Regions from separate parts of the Homo sapiens genome. Here all the other regions are linked to region 1. The links are contacts of gene promoters, found by promoter capture Hi-C in human tissues and cell types (Jung and others, 2019). All regions are on one chromosome and are shown on one strand. Each heading gives the region's core, a stretch centred on a gene start or on the middle of the fragment in contact. The rest is flanking DNA. Distances are from core to core; before and after follow the strand shown.

Region 1 (3,681 bases), core at 946-3,445:
TGGAAAGAGTCCTACTTGCTTTTTCCGGAACTCTCCAGATTCTCTCCCCTCCCCAGCGTTCCCTTCTGCCGTTCCCTCGGCTTCGGATGCCCTTCCTCATTTGACAAACTCGTCTTCAAGGCCTAGCTCCAAGATCCCCTCCTCCAGGAAGTCTTCCTGGAACCCCCAGCACAGCCCTCTCTCCACTGTGGACTTCCTTGGCTCTCTGTCTCTCTGGTCCAGGTCTGCACCTGCAGAGCCAAGTGTCCGGTCAGTCTCTGGCTCCCCGAAAGCCAGAAAGGGGAGCCTCGGAGATTGCTTTCAGGTTAACCCAGGACAGCACTGAAACTCGGAATAAAGCGCTGATGGTGGAATTCCAGGCACTGGCTGGGCGGGGTCTCCGGGAGCGCCTTCGCATGGCGGATTCTCTGGTTCTGGATCAGAGCGGGCGGGCGGCGCACTTGCGTGTTAAGAAAAATCTGTCTGACAGAATAGAGTTCTAATACCCCCTTACCTCGCCCTGCTCAATATTTTTATTTACTTTATTATTTTATTTTATTTTATTTTTGAGACAGGGTCTCACTCTGTCGCCCAGGCTGGAGTGCAGTGGCGCGATCACGGCTCTTGCAACCTCCAACTTTTGGGCTCAAGGGATCCGCCCGCCTCAGCCTCCTGAGTAGCTGGAACCACAGGCGCGAGCCACCATGCCAGTCTAACTTTTCGGTGTTTCTTTTTGTTTGTTGTTTTTGTTTGTTTGTTTTGTTTTCGTTTTTTTGGTGGAGACGGGGATCTCACTACGTTGCCCAAGCTTTTTTTTTTTTTTTTTTTTTTTTTTGAGACGGGGTCTCGCTCTGTCGCCCAGGCTGGAGTTCAGTGGCGCGATCTAGACTCACTGCAACCTCCGCCTCCCAGGTTCAAGCGATTCTCCTGCCTCAGACTCCCAAGTAGCTGGGACTACAGGCGTGCGCCACCATGCCTGGCTAATTTTTTGTATTTTTAATAGAGACAGGGTTTGGCCATGTTGGTCAGGCTGGTCTCGAACTCCTTGCCTCAGGTGATCTACCCGCCTTGGCCTCCCAAAATGCTGGGATTACAGGCGTGAGCCACTGCGCCCGGCCGAGGCTTTAATATTTTAAGTTGTAAAATAGGAACAAATGATGACATATTTATATTTCATCTGCCATTCTCTAGTTGTTACATCTGTAACAAGCTAGTTATTACATCTGTAACAAGCTAGTTGTTACATCTGTAACAAGCGTACAGCAAGCGCCTACTGTGTGCTCGCATTGAGAACCAGACCTGGCCCCTCGTTCCTACCCTCGCTGGGCTTTCAGTCTAACAGACTGAGCTACTCAGAATAGTCAGGGGTTGGCCAAATGCCAGGTAAAACCCAGGTCGCCCAGCTAAATGTGAATTTCAAATAAACAATGAATAATTTTTTAGTACTAGTATGTCCCATGTAGACATAGGACATAGAAACATTTATGTATGTATGTATATATATGTATTTGAGACAGGGTCTCGTTCTGTCGCCCAGGATGCAGTGCAGTGGGTGTGATCTCAGCTCACTGCAGCCTTGACCTCCTGAGCACAAGCGATTCTCCTGCCTCAGCCTCCCAAGTAGCTGGGATTACAGGTGCGCCCCGCCCAGCTAACATTTATTCTTTTATCTGAAATTTACATTTAACTAGACGGACTGTATTTTTATTTGCTAAACTTGACAACTCTATGGGATCCTCTCCGAGGTTACATCCTGAAGGGAGTCGGTGTTAACCGGACGAAGAGTGCATGAGGAGTGTTCTAGGCAGCCAAATGGTGCGTGCAAAGTTCCTAAGCAGGGCTTGCTGTAATTATGTATCACAGCCCTACTGGGGTGGTTGAAGTTATTGTCACCAGGAATCTTCCCCAACCGGCCCGCCCCTCCCACGTCCTCCCTTAGTCAACTTACGCCCATCTCACATTCCAAACAGCGTCTCCAGGGTCCGGAGTTTGCAGATGGGGAAACTGAGGCTCCGAGGCGGGGACCAGAAGAAAGCATGGGTGGGGACAAGTTGGAGAATGCACCATCAGTGCGGGCGGGGACCAGCAGCAGGGAGCGAGGTAGGCGGGCGAGAAGGAAACCCAGAAAACAACACGGGCGGAGACGCGAACCAAAGAACTAGGCGGGCGAACTCAGCTGAGAACCCTAGAGTGACGTGCATCGGGCCGGGAAGGAGAATCGAGGTTCGGCTCGGGCGGGGACGAGAAGCAGCGCTCGGGCGAGCGAGGACCGAGGCCGGCGCGGGCGGGCGCGGCCTTTGTCTCCTCCTCCCGCGCGCTCCGCGGCTGCACCGGCCCCATGAGCCCGCGGCTCCCCGTCGCCCGGGCCGTCCGTAGCCCCTGACCTGACCTGTCCTCGCCATGGCCGAGGCCGCCTCCGGCGCCGGGGGCACGTCCCTGGAGGGCGAGCGTGGCAAGAGGCCCCCGCCGGAGGGCGAGCCTGCAGCCCCGGCGTCCGGAGTTCTGGGTATGTGTGCGGCGGCTGGACCAGACAGGGTTGCAGGTGCCTGGGGAGCCCGCGTCAACTACACGGGGAGGAGGATCAGGGTCAAACGTAACCTGGCGTGGTGTCTGGACGAGGGGCCGGCTCCTCCCGGCACTGCGGCTGCGGCCCGGCGGGCGGGGCTGGGACGGTGCTTCGGGCTGGGGTCCCGGCGCGGAGACGCGGACACGCCCCTCCGAGAGCCCCAGGCTTGGGCTGCGCCCTGCCACCCCCGGGCTGCGGGATCGCGGCGGGCCAGGGATGTGCTTGAGAGAGCCTCTCCGCGAAGAATACAGAATCATACGGTCCTGGGTTCAAATCCCAGCTTGACTGTGTGACCTTGGGCGCGTGACTTAAACGCTCTGGGCCTCAGTTTCCTCACCTGTGAAATGGGGGTAAGAACCGCACCTAGTCCCTGGGGCTGCTGCAAGGACGGCGCTGTCATAATGTGGTGAAGCGCTCAGGGCTGCTAGTGAGCGCCCCATCGATTGTGGTTTTGGAGGCGGAGCTGGGCCTCAAGAATGAGTAAGATTTGTAAGGGAGGATCTGGGGGGAAGGGCATTTCTGGAGGAAGGCCTGGCTGGTACAAGGACGTGGAGGGAGGAAAATAAGCCAAGCCCAGAGCTCCCGGGGCCTTGAATGCCAGGTGGAGTGGTGAGGAGCCCTGGCGGGGGCAGGAGGAGCCAAGACTGGAGGCCGGGTCCGGATCCCAGAGTGGCCTGACCCGGGCCTGCTACGCCGCCCCCTAGATAAGCTTTTCGGAAAGCGGCTCCTGCAGGCTGGTCGCTACCTGGTGTCCCACAAGGCGTGGATGAAGACGGTGCCTACAGAGAACTGCGACGTGCTGATGACCTTCCCAGGTACCCAAGCCCGCCCGCCCGCCCGCCCAGTGCCCAGATGCGGCTCTCCTGAGCTCGGCTTCCCAGAACGGGAATACGTAGGAGGCCTTGGGCCCCCTCGTGGCAGGAGCCATCGGTCCCTGTGCCCCTTGGCAGACACGACCGATGACCACACGCTGCTATGGCTGCTGAACCACATCCGCGTGGGCATTCCCGAGCTCATCGTGCAAGTCCGCCACCACCGCCACACGCGTGCCTACGCCTTCTTTGTCACCGCCACGTATGAGAGGCGAGTCCCCTGTCCCTGGCCTCTCGCTGAGCCTGCCACCCGACTCCCCGCTC
Region 2 (3,681 bases), core at 557-3,056, 760 kb after region 1:
GTGCAGAACACACTCCCCTCCCCAACAAAAGGCCATGGGCAAAGTGGCTTTGAAGGCAGGATGAGGTTGAACCCAGGCCTACCACCCACCAGCTGTGTGGCTCTGAGCTCATCTCTTCACTCCTGTGCACATGTCCCCATTTGGGGGGTGAGAATACCCCAGAGTTGTGAGAACTAAAACACAAAGCATGTCAGTGTGTCAGTGGAAGTATCTGACACTCAGCTGTGCTGTAGGGTGCCTATAGTTATACTTTCCTAATTTCACTGTGCCTATGTTTAACAGCTCTGCTGAGACATGGTGTCCCAAGGATGTGACTTTACTCTGATCCACAGAGGGTACAGCTGGAGGATATTAGGGTGCAGAGCTTGGCCTCCTATCAGCATCTCTAGAGTTTTGGGATAGGTTGCAGCTCCCCACTACCCCTGCCTGCAGGGACTACCATGCCTGTGTCCATGTATCCAGAAGGGCCTAGGGCCTTTGAGAATGCAAGGATAAGCTAAGATACCTTCCAACATTTGGGGAGCCAAGTTGGGTTGCTGCTTTCTACTTTTCTTTGAGACTGGGTCTCGCTCTGTCACCCAGGCTGCAGTGCAGTGGCGCCATCATAGCTCACTGGAACCTTGACCTGGGCTCAAGCCGATCCACCCACCTCAGTCTCCCTAGTAGTGGGTACCACAGGCGTGCGCCACCACGCCTGGCTAATTTTTGTATTTTTTGCAAAGATGAGGTTCTGCCATGTTATCGATGCCACGATCTCCAACTCCTGAGCTCAAGCAATCCGCCCACCTTGGCCTCCCAAAGTGCTGGGATTCCAAGCTTGACTCACTGCACCCAGCCGGTTGCTGCTTCTAATTTGACAAGTAAAAACACTGTAACGGAATTTTAACACCCTTTCCCCGAAAAAGTTGGAGGCACACGATGTGGAGAACAAATTATAGCCCTTGAATTAGTATAAGATCATCTTACTGAAAACCTCGTCCTGTTTTCCTCCACTGGGGCCTCCTGGGGCTGGTCCATCCCGGCTGGTCCTTGGACATCAGCCGTCAGGGCCCGGCACCTCCCCCTTCTGCAGAGCCTTGGAGACAGGTGTCCAAGGACGCTACCATGACCACGGTCCCCAGTGTGGCCAGGAAGCCTAAGACAAGTCGCTTCCCCATTCTGGACTTCGGTCTGTGAAATGCGGACAGTGATACCTACCGCACCGCGTTCCTAGGATTCAGTGGGATGATACCAGGGCCACGCCCGAGAACTGCGCACGTCGCGGTGGTTTCCAGAACATGATTCCAGGGATCGGGTGCTCCGGGATAGTCCCACTGCCAGAGTTTGGCCACGAGCGTGCGCCCCCAGTTTGCAGAGCGAGTTTAGCCCAAGAGCTTTTCACAAATGGTTTCTTTCCCTAAAAGGCCTTTTACCTTTGGTGTCAGCCGCCGCCAGCCATCAGGAATCAGGAATCTAGTTAGCGGTTGCCCTTGTATCCCTGGTCGAGGCCCTGATGTTTGGCCCACGCACAGACGCCGACGCTGCGAAGCCCTCCGCGCTTCTGTTCGCCCGTCCCGTTCGAGCTCCGGCTCCCGGTCACTGGGACCGCCCACGTCTCAGGTGGCACAGCTTGGACGCAGGTCTGTGTCCCCTTCTTCCGCTTCCGGCCTCGGCTCCGCCGGAAGCGCATCTACAGTGGACTGGGCCTGCACTCGAGACGTGGTGGCTGGCGCGTCGGCCGGCGCGGAGGGATGACGCGAGGAGGCAGCGACCAATGGGAAACGGCGTAGACCGGGGCGCCTGCCCCCCCGCCCAGCCCCGCCCCCGCCCGGCGTCGGGCCGTCGGACGGGCTGGAAGGGGCGGCCGCTCGGGCAGGATGGCGGCGGCCGCGGTGGGCGCGGGCCACGGCGCGGGGGGCCCGGGCGCAGCGAGCAGCAGTGGTGGGGCGCGCGAGGGCGCGCGGGTGGCGGCGCTGTGCCTGCTGTGGTACGCGCTGAGCGCGGGCGGCAACGTGGTCAACAAGGTGATCCTGAGCGCCTTCCCGTTCCCGGTGACCGTGTCGCTGTGCCACATCCTGGCTCTGTGCGCTGGGCTCCCGCCGCTGCTGCGCGCCTGGCGCGTGCCCCCCGCGCCGCCCGTCTCGGGCCCCGGACCCAGTCCGCATCCGTCGTCCGGCCCGCTGCTGCCGCCGCGCTTCTACCCGCGCTACGTGCTACCGCTCGCCTTCGGCAAGTACTTCGCGTCCGTGTCAGCGCACGTCAGCATCTGGAAGGTGCCCGTGTCCTATGCACACACCGGTAGGTTCCGCGCCCGGCCTCGGGGGCGGCGGCCGGGCCCGCCGCTTCGGGTTTGGGCGCATGGATAGGAGTGCGCCGCCCGGGGCGCGTCCCGCCGGACTGAGAAGTCAGCAGAGGGGCTGCCAAGGGTTTGGTAGGGGAGGGACACGCACGGGGTTCTCAGGGAGAAGAGGAGCTGAGAAGAGAGCTGAGAGGTAAGCAGGACAGACCACAACAGCCGTGGCAGGAGGAAGCCCTACCGAAAGAGAAGGGGCGAAGAGGTGTGAGGGGCTGCCAGGCCCTCCCATCCCGCCGTGGAGGTGGAACAGGTTGGGCCCTGAAATTCAGGCAGCCCCCTGAGTGCCCATCCCTCTCTTTGCAGTCAAGGCCACCATGCCCATCTGGGTGGTCCTCCTGTCCCGGATCATTATGAAGGAGAAGCAGAGCACCAAGGTAACCCCGGGCAGGGACTCTGGGCAGATGGGAGCTCCAGGGGGTTCCTCCCTGTTGCCAACTGGTGACGTGGTCAGGATCCTGGTCTGCAGGCTGCCTGGCTTCCCGTCAAATAGGGAAGTCAGTGTAGAGGTCTCCAGTGGCCTTTTACTACTCAAGTTCTAGAATCACCCTGTGAGCAGTGGTGTGTGGAGTATGTGTCCCTCTGTGATCTCTGCTGTGTGGTCTTAGGAACACTGTTGTCCCTTTCAGATCCAATTTTCCTCCCCGTTTTGATTCCCTACCTGGGTTTGCTGGTAGGTGATGGGTTGGTCACATCTTGGCCATACACCCCATGTGTGGCCTTTCCAGTGGGACTAGGGATGGATGGATCAGAACGCTGTCGGTTAGGTGTTCACTTTTTTTTTTTTTTTTTTGAGACGGAGTTTTACTCTTGCCCAGCCTGAAGTCCAGTGACACAATCTCAGCTCACTGCAACCTCCGCCTCCCAGGTTCAAGCAGTTCTCCTGCCTCAGCCTCTCAAGTAGTTGGGACTACAGACGTGCACTACCACACCTGGCTAATTTTTTTGTATTTTTAATAGAGACAGGGTTTCACCATGTTGCCAGGCTGGTCTCAAACTCCTGACCTCAAGTGATCCGTCCGCCTCAGCCTCCCAAAGTGCTGGTATTACAGGCGTCAGCCACTGCACTTGGCTAGGTTTTCACTTCTTGACAAGAGATTTCTGTCAGGGGACCTCTGGGATCAGAAGCCAGACGCGATCCAAGGAGTTCGATCTTGGCAAAATCCAGCAAAGTCTTAGAAATTAAAACAGCCAGAAGTTGTGATGGTCTGGGAACGGAAGCGAAAGTGGCACACAGGACTCAGGGCTGCATAAGGAGGATGCTTTGGGCACAGTCCAAATTCTGTTCAAGATGCCAAGCCAGGGTATTTCCTGGCTTGGGGCAAGAATAGCCATGGCTTTAGCCGGAG
Region 3 (3,681 bases), core at 845-3,344, 620 kb before region 1:
CTCTCCCTCCATCCTTTCCTTCCTTCCTTCCTCCCTCCCTCTGTCCCTCCCTCCCTCCCTTTCTCTGTTTTTTGTTTTTTTGTTTTGTTTTGTTTTGTTTTTTGAGACAGTCTCGCTTTGTCGCCAGGCTGGAGTGCAGTGCTGCAATTTCGGCTCACTGCAACCTCCAACTCCCTGGTTCAAGCGATTCTCCTGCCTGCCTCAGCCTCCTGAGTAGCTAGGATTACAGGCACTCCCGACATCACCCCTGGCTAATTTTTTGTATTTAGTAGAGACGGGGTTTCACCATGCAGGATGGTCTCTATCCCCAGACCTCATTATCCGCCCACCTCGGCCTCCCAAAGTGCTGGGATTACAGGCATGAGCCACCACACCTGGCCCCCTTTCTCTCTTTCTCGCTTTCTTTCTGAGACAGAGTCTCACTGTCACCCAGACTACAGTACAGTGGTTCAATCATAGCCCACTGTATCCTCGACCTCTTGGGCTCAAGTGATCCCCCCATCTCAGCCTCCAGAGTAGCTGGGACCACACACATGCACCACCCCACTGGTTAATTTAAAAAAAAAAAAATTGTAGAGATGGGTTCTTGCTACATTGCCCAGGCTGGTCTCAAGCTCCTGAGCTCAAGTGATCCTCCTGTCTTGGCCTCCCAAAGTTCTGGGATCACAGGCATCAGCCACTGTATCCAGCACAAAACACTTAAGCTTAATTGATGCCCCATGAAATTCCACAAGGGCTGACCTGGGCTGGCCTTTGTCCTTATTGCATCCCAGCATCCAGCCTAGGGCCTGGCAGACAGTAGCTAGCTTGCTCAGTGTTTGTTGATTGACTAAATGACCACCACCTCTGTTTTCTCCACACCCCCATGGGCAGCTTAGTGCTGACCCTGGATGTCAGTCAGTGTTCACCAAGGAGGCCTGGCTCAGTGGCTCACGCCTGCAATCCCAGCACTTTGGGAGGCCAAGACAGGTGGATCACCTGAGGTCAGGAGTTCGAGACCAGCCCGGCCAACATGGGGAAACCCCATCTCTACTGAAAACACAAAAATTAGCTGTGCGTGGTGACGCATGCCTGTAATCCCAGCTACTTGGGAGGCTGAAGCAGGAGAATCGCTTGAACCCGGTGGGGTGGAGGGTGGAGGTTGCAGTGAGCCAAGATCATGCCACTGCGCTCCAGCCTGGGCGACAGAGTCAGACTCTGTCTCAAAACAAACAAACAAAACAAAACAAAACAAAACTAAAAAAAAAAAGTTCACTGGAGAAAGGAGCACAGGAGCTGCCTTCCACAGAGCTGGCCTACCCTGGGGGCTGTCTCCAGCGAGACCACGAGAGCCGGGAAGTAGAGGCTGTGTGTGGGGGGCGGGGGCGGGAGTGGTGGGACAGAGCTCTTCCAACCTGGCTCAACACCCCACTTCTAGGTCATCTGGCCTCTCTGAATAGTTTCCCCAACTCCAGTGATCAAAGAAAGTGGACAGTAACTCCCCGGAGGCTCTAGAAAGCATAGTCCTTGCTATCATCATCATGATATATATGATATAATAATAATTATATTATTATTTTTTTTCTTTCTTTCTTTTTTTTTTTTTTTTTGGAGATGGAGTTTCACTCTTGTTGCCCAGGCTGGAGTGCAATGGCACAATCTCGGCTCACTGCAACTTCCGCCTCCTGGGTTCAAGTGATTCTCCTGCCTTAGCCTCCCAAGTAGCTGGGATTACAGGCATGCAGCACCATGCCTGGCTAATTTTGTATTTTTAGTAGAGATGGGGGTTTCACCCTGTTGGCCAGGCTGGTCTCGAACTCCTGACCTCAGGTGATCTGCCTGCCTTGGCCTCCCAAAGTGCTGGGATTACAAGCGTAAGCCACCACGTCTGGCCTTTTTTCTTTTTTTTTTTTTTAATTAAAGAGATGGGGGTCTCGCTCTGTCGCCTAGGCTGGAGTGCAGTGGCCATTCACAAGCGTGATCATAGCTCACTGCAGCCTCGAACTCCTGGACTCGATACTCCCACCTTAGCCTTCCGAGTAGCTAGGACCACAGGTGCACGCCACTGTACCCAGCTTGTTATTATTTCAAAAGCTGGCACTTTTTCCTCAGGTCACCTTTTTTTTTTTTTTTTTGAAACAGAGCTTTGCTCTGTCGCCCAGGCTGGAGTGCAGTGGCGCGATCTTGGCTCACTGCAACCTCTGCCTCCCGGATTCAAGTGGTCCTCCTGCCTCAGCCTCCCAAGTAGCTAGGATTGCAGGTGCCCACCACCATCCCCGGGCAATTTTTGTATTTTTAGTAGACACGGGGTTTCGCCATGTCGGCCAAACTGGCCTCAAACTCCTGACCTCAAGTGATCCACCTGCCTCAGCCTCCCAAAGTGCTGGGATTACAGGCGTGAGCCACCTAGCCTGCCCAGTTACCAATTTTTCTATCCAACCCCTGAGCCACCCCCACCCCCAAAGGCGACCCAAGTCTGGGATTCACTCACCCTAGGGTGCAGGGGTCTCCTCGCCGAGCCACTGCAAAGGGGCTGTCCCCTTCAGTCCTGCTGGTGACCACTTGACTGGGAGAGAGGGTGGCTGCTGCTGCCTTTCCTGTCCCTTTGAGATCTGTAATGATCAGACAGGGGGTGCGGGGTGGAGGCGGGGACCCAAAAGAGTAGGGTGCAGACAGCTCCCGGACTACAGTGGTCTTTCTTATTTTTTATTTTTTTGAGACAGAGTCTTGCTCTGTCACCCAGGCTGGAGTGTAGTGATGTGATCTCAGCTCACTGCAACTGCCGCCTCCAGGGTTCAAACAATTCTCCTGCCTCAGCCTCCCAAGCATCTGGGATTACAGGTGCCTGCCACCATGCCCGGCTACTTTTTGTATTTTTAGTAGAGATGGGGTTTTGCTGTGTTGGCCAGGCTGGACTTGAACTCCTGGCCAGAGGTGATTCACCTGCTTCAGCCTATTACGTACAATGGTCTTTACAGCAGATCTGCGCTCTGGCTTGGTGTTGCTGAGCTGGGTCATCTCCTAAGCTTTCAGGAAGCTTAAGAACAGTGGCTTTATCACTCCAATGGGGCCCTGGGCTAGCCCCACCTCTTCCATGTCCCCTCCCTAAGGCCACTCCTCCTTTCACTGGGCTCCAGAAGCTAGACACTGAATGCTTTATCTGTCTTTCCCAATGCTGTTCCTGCTCACCCCCTCACATTGCCCCTAGTTCCTTCGCCATGGGGAGATCTAGGTGGGTGACATTCAGGGAGGTGACATTTTGTCACCCAGGCTGGAGTGCAGTCGCATGAACATGGCTCACTGCAGCCTTGACTTCCCGGGCTCAAGCGATCCTCCCACCTTCGGCCCCCAAGTAGCTTGGACTACAAGTGTGCACCACTACACCTGGCTAATTTTTTTAATTTTTTGTAGAGACAGGGTTTCAGTACGTTGCCCAGGCTGGTCTCGAACTCCTGAGCTTGCCTCGCCCTTCCAAAGTGTTGGGATTACAGTTGTGAACCACCTCGCTTGGCAGAGCAGCTGAACTCTTGCTCCCCAGCTCTGAAGCTGCCCTGGGAGCCTGTAGCTCCCTTGGCGTGCTCCCTCCATCTATTTAGTGCTGTCTGCAGAGGGCTTATAGAAGCACATGGTACCCAAGTCCGATCCTGGAGAAGAGGGCAGAAAAGGACACCCCATGGAGGGCAGGGGCAATGCCAGACCCCA

What was found. The method cuts DNA at HindIII sites, captures the fragments that hold promoters and counts their contacts. A contact is called where the count stands out against the background at its distance.
Region 2: the fragment with the promoter of SLC35E1 here is called in contact with the fragment with the promoter of ANO8 in region 1 in 1 of the 25 tissues and cell types used here (dorsolateral prefrontal cortex).
Region 3: a contact is called between a fragment that was not itself captured here and the fragment with the promoter of ANO8 in region 1, in 1 of the 25 tissues and cell types used here (dorsolateral prefrontal cortex).

Annotation. Positions count from the first base shown.
Region 1 is chr19:17,333,369-17,337,049 of GRCh38, reverse strand. It overlaps ANO8 (anoctamin 8), which reads left to right and starts at 2,195. Exons shown (of 18, transcript NM_020959.3): 1 at 2,195-2,485; 2 at 3,250-3,360; 3 at 3,496-3,628. The coding sequence starts at 2,380. It also overlaps a transcript of GTPBP3 not described here. RefSeq lists an enhancer at 1-528 and a silencer at 2,253-2,692. The HindIII fragment of the contact is 8,300 bases long and covers 1-3,681 here.
Region 2 is chr19:16,570,540-16,574,220 of GRCh38, reverse strand. SLC35E1 (solute carrier family 35 member E1) reads left to right here and starts at 1,806. Exons shown (of 6, transcript NM_024881.5): 1 at 1,806-2,277; 2 at 2,639-2,709. The coding sequence starts at 1,857. It overlaps LOC105372295 (a long non-coding RNA gene), which reads right to left and starts at 1,671. Exons shown (of 3, transcript XR_936360.3): 1 at 1,413-1,671. RefSeq lists enhancers at 1,500-1,589, 897-1,771 and silencers at 1,690-1,909, 2,040-2,149, 2,310-2,439. The HindIII fragment of the contact is 29,713 bases long and covers 407-3,681 here.
Region 3 is chr19:17,953,471-17,957,151 of GRCh38, reverse strand. It overlaps a transcript of KCNN1 not described here. Among named protein-coding and RNA genes, the nearest start is that of KCNN1, 12 kb to the left of the region's middle. The HindIII fragment of the contact is 4,437 bases long and covers 1-3,681 here.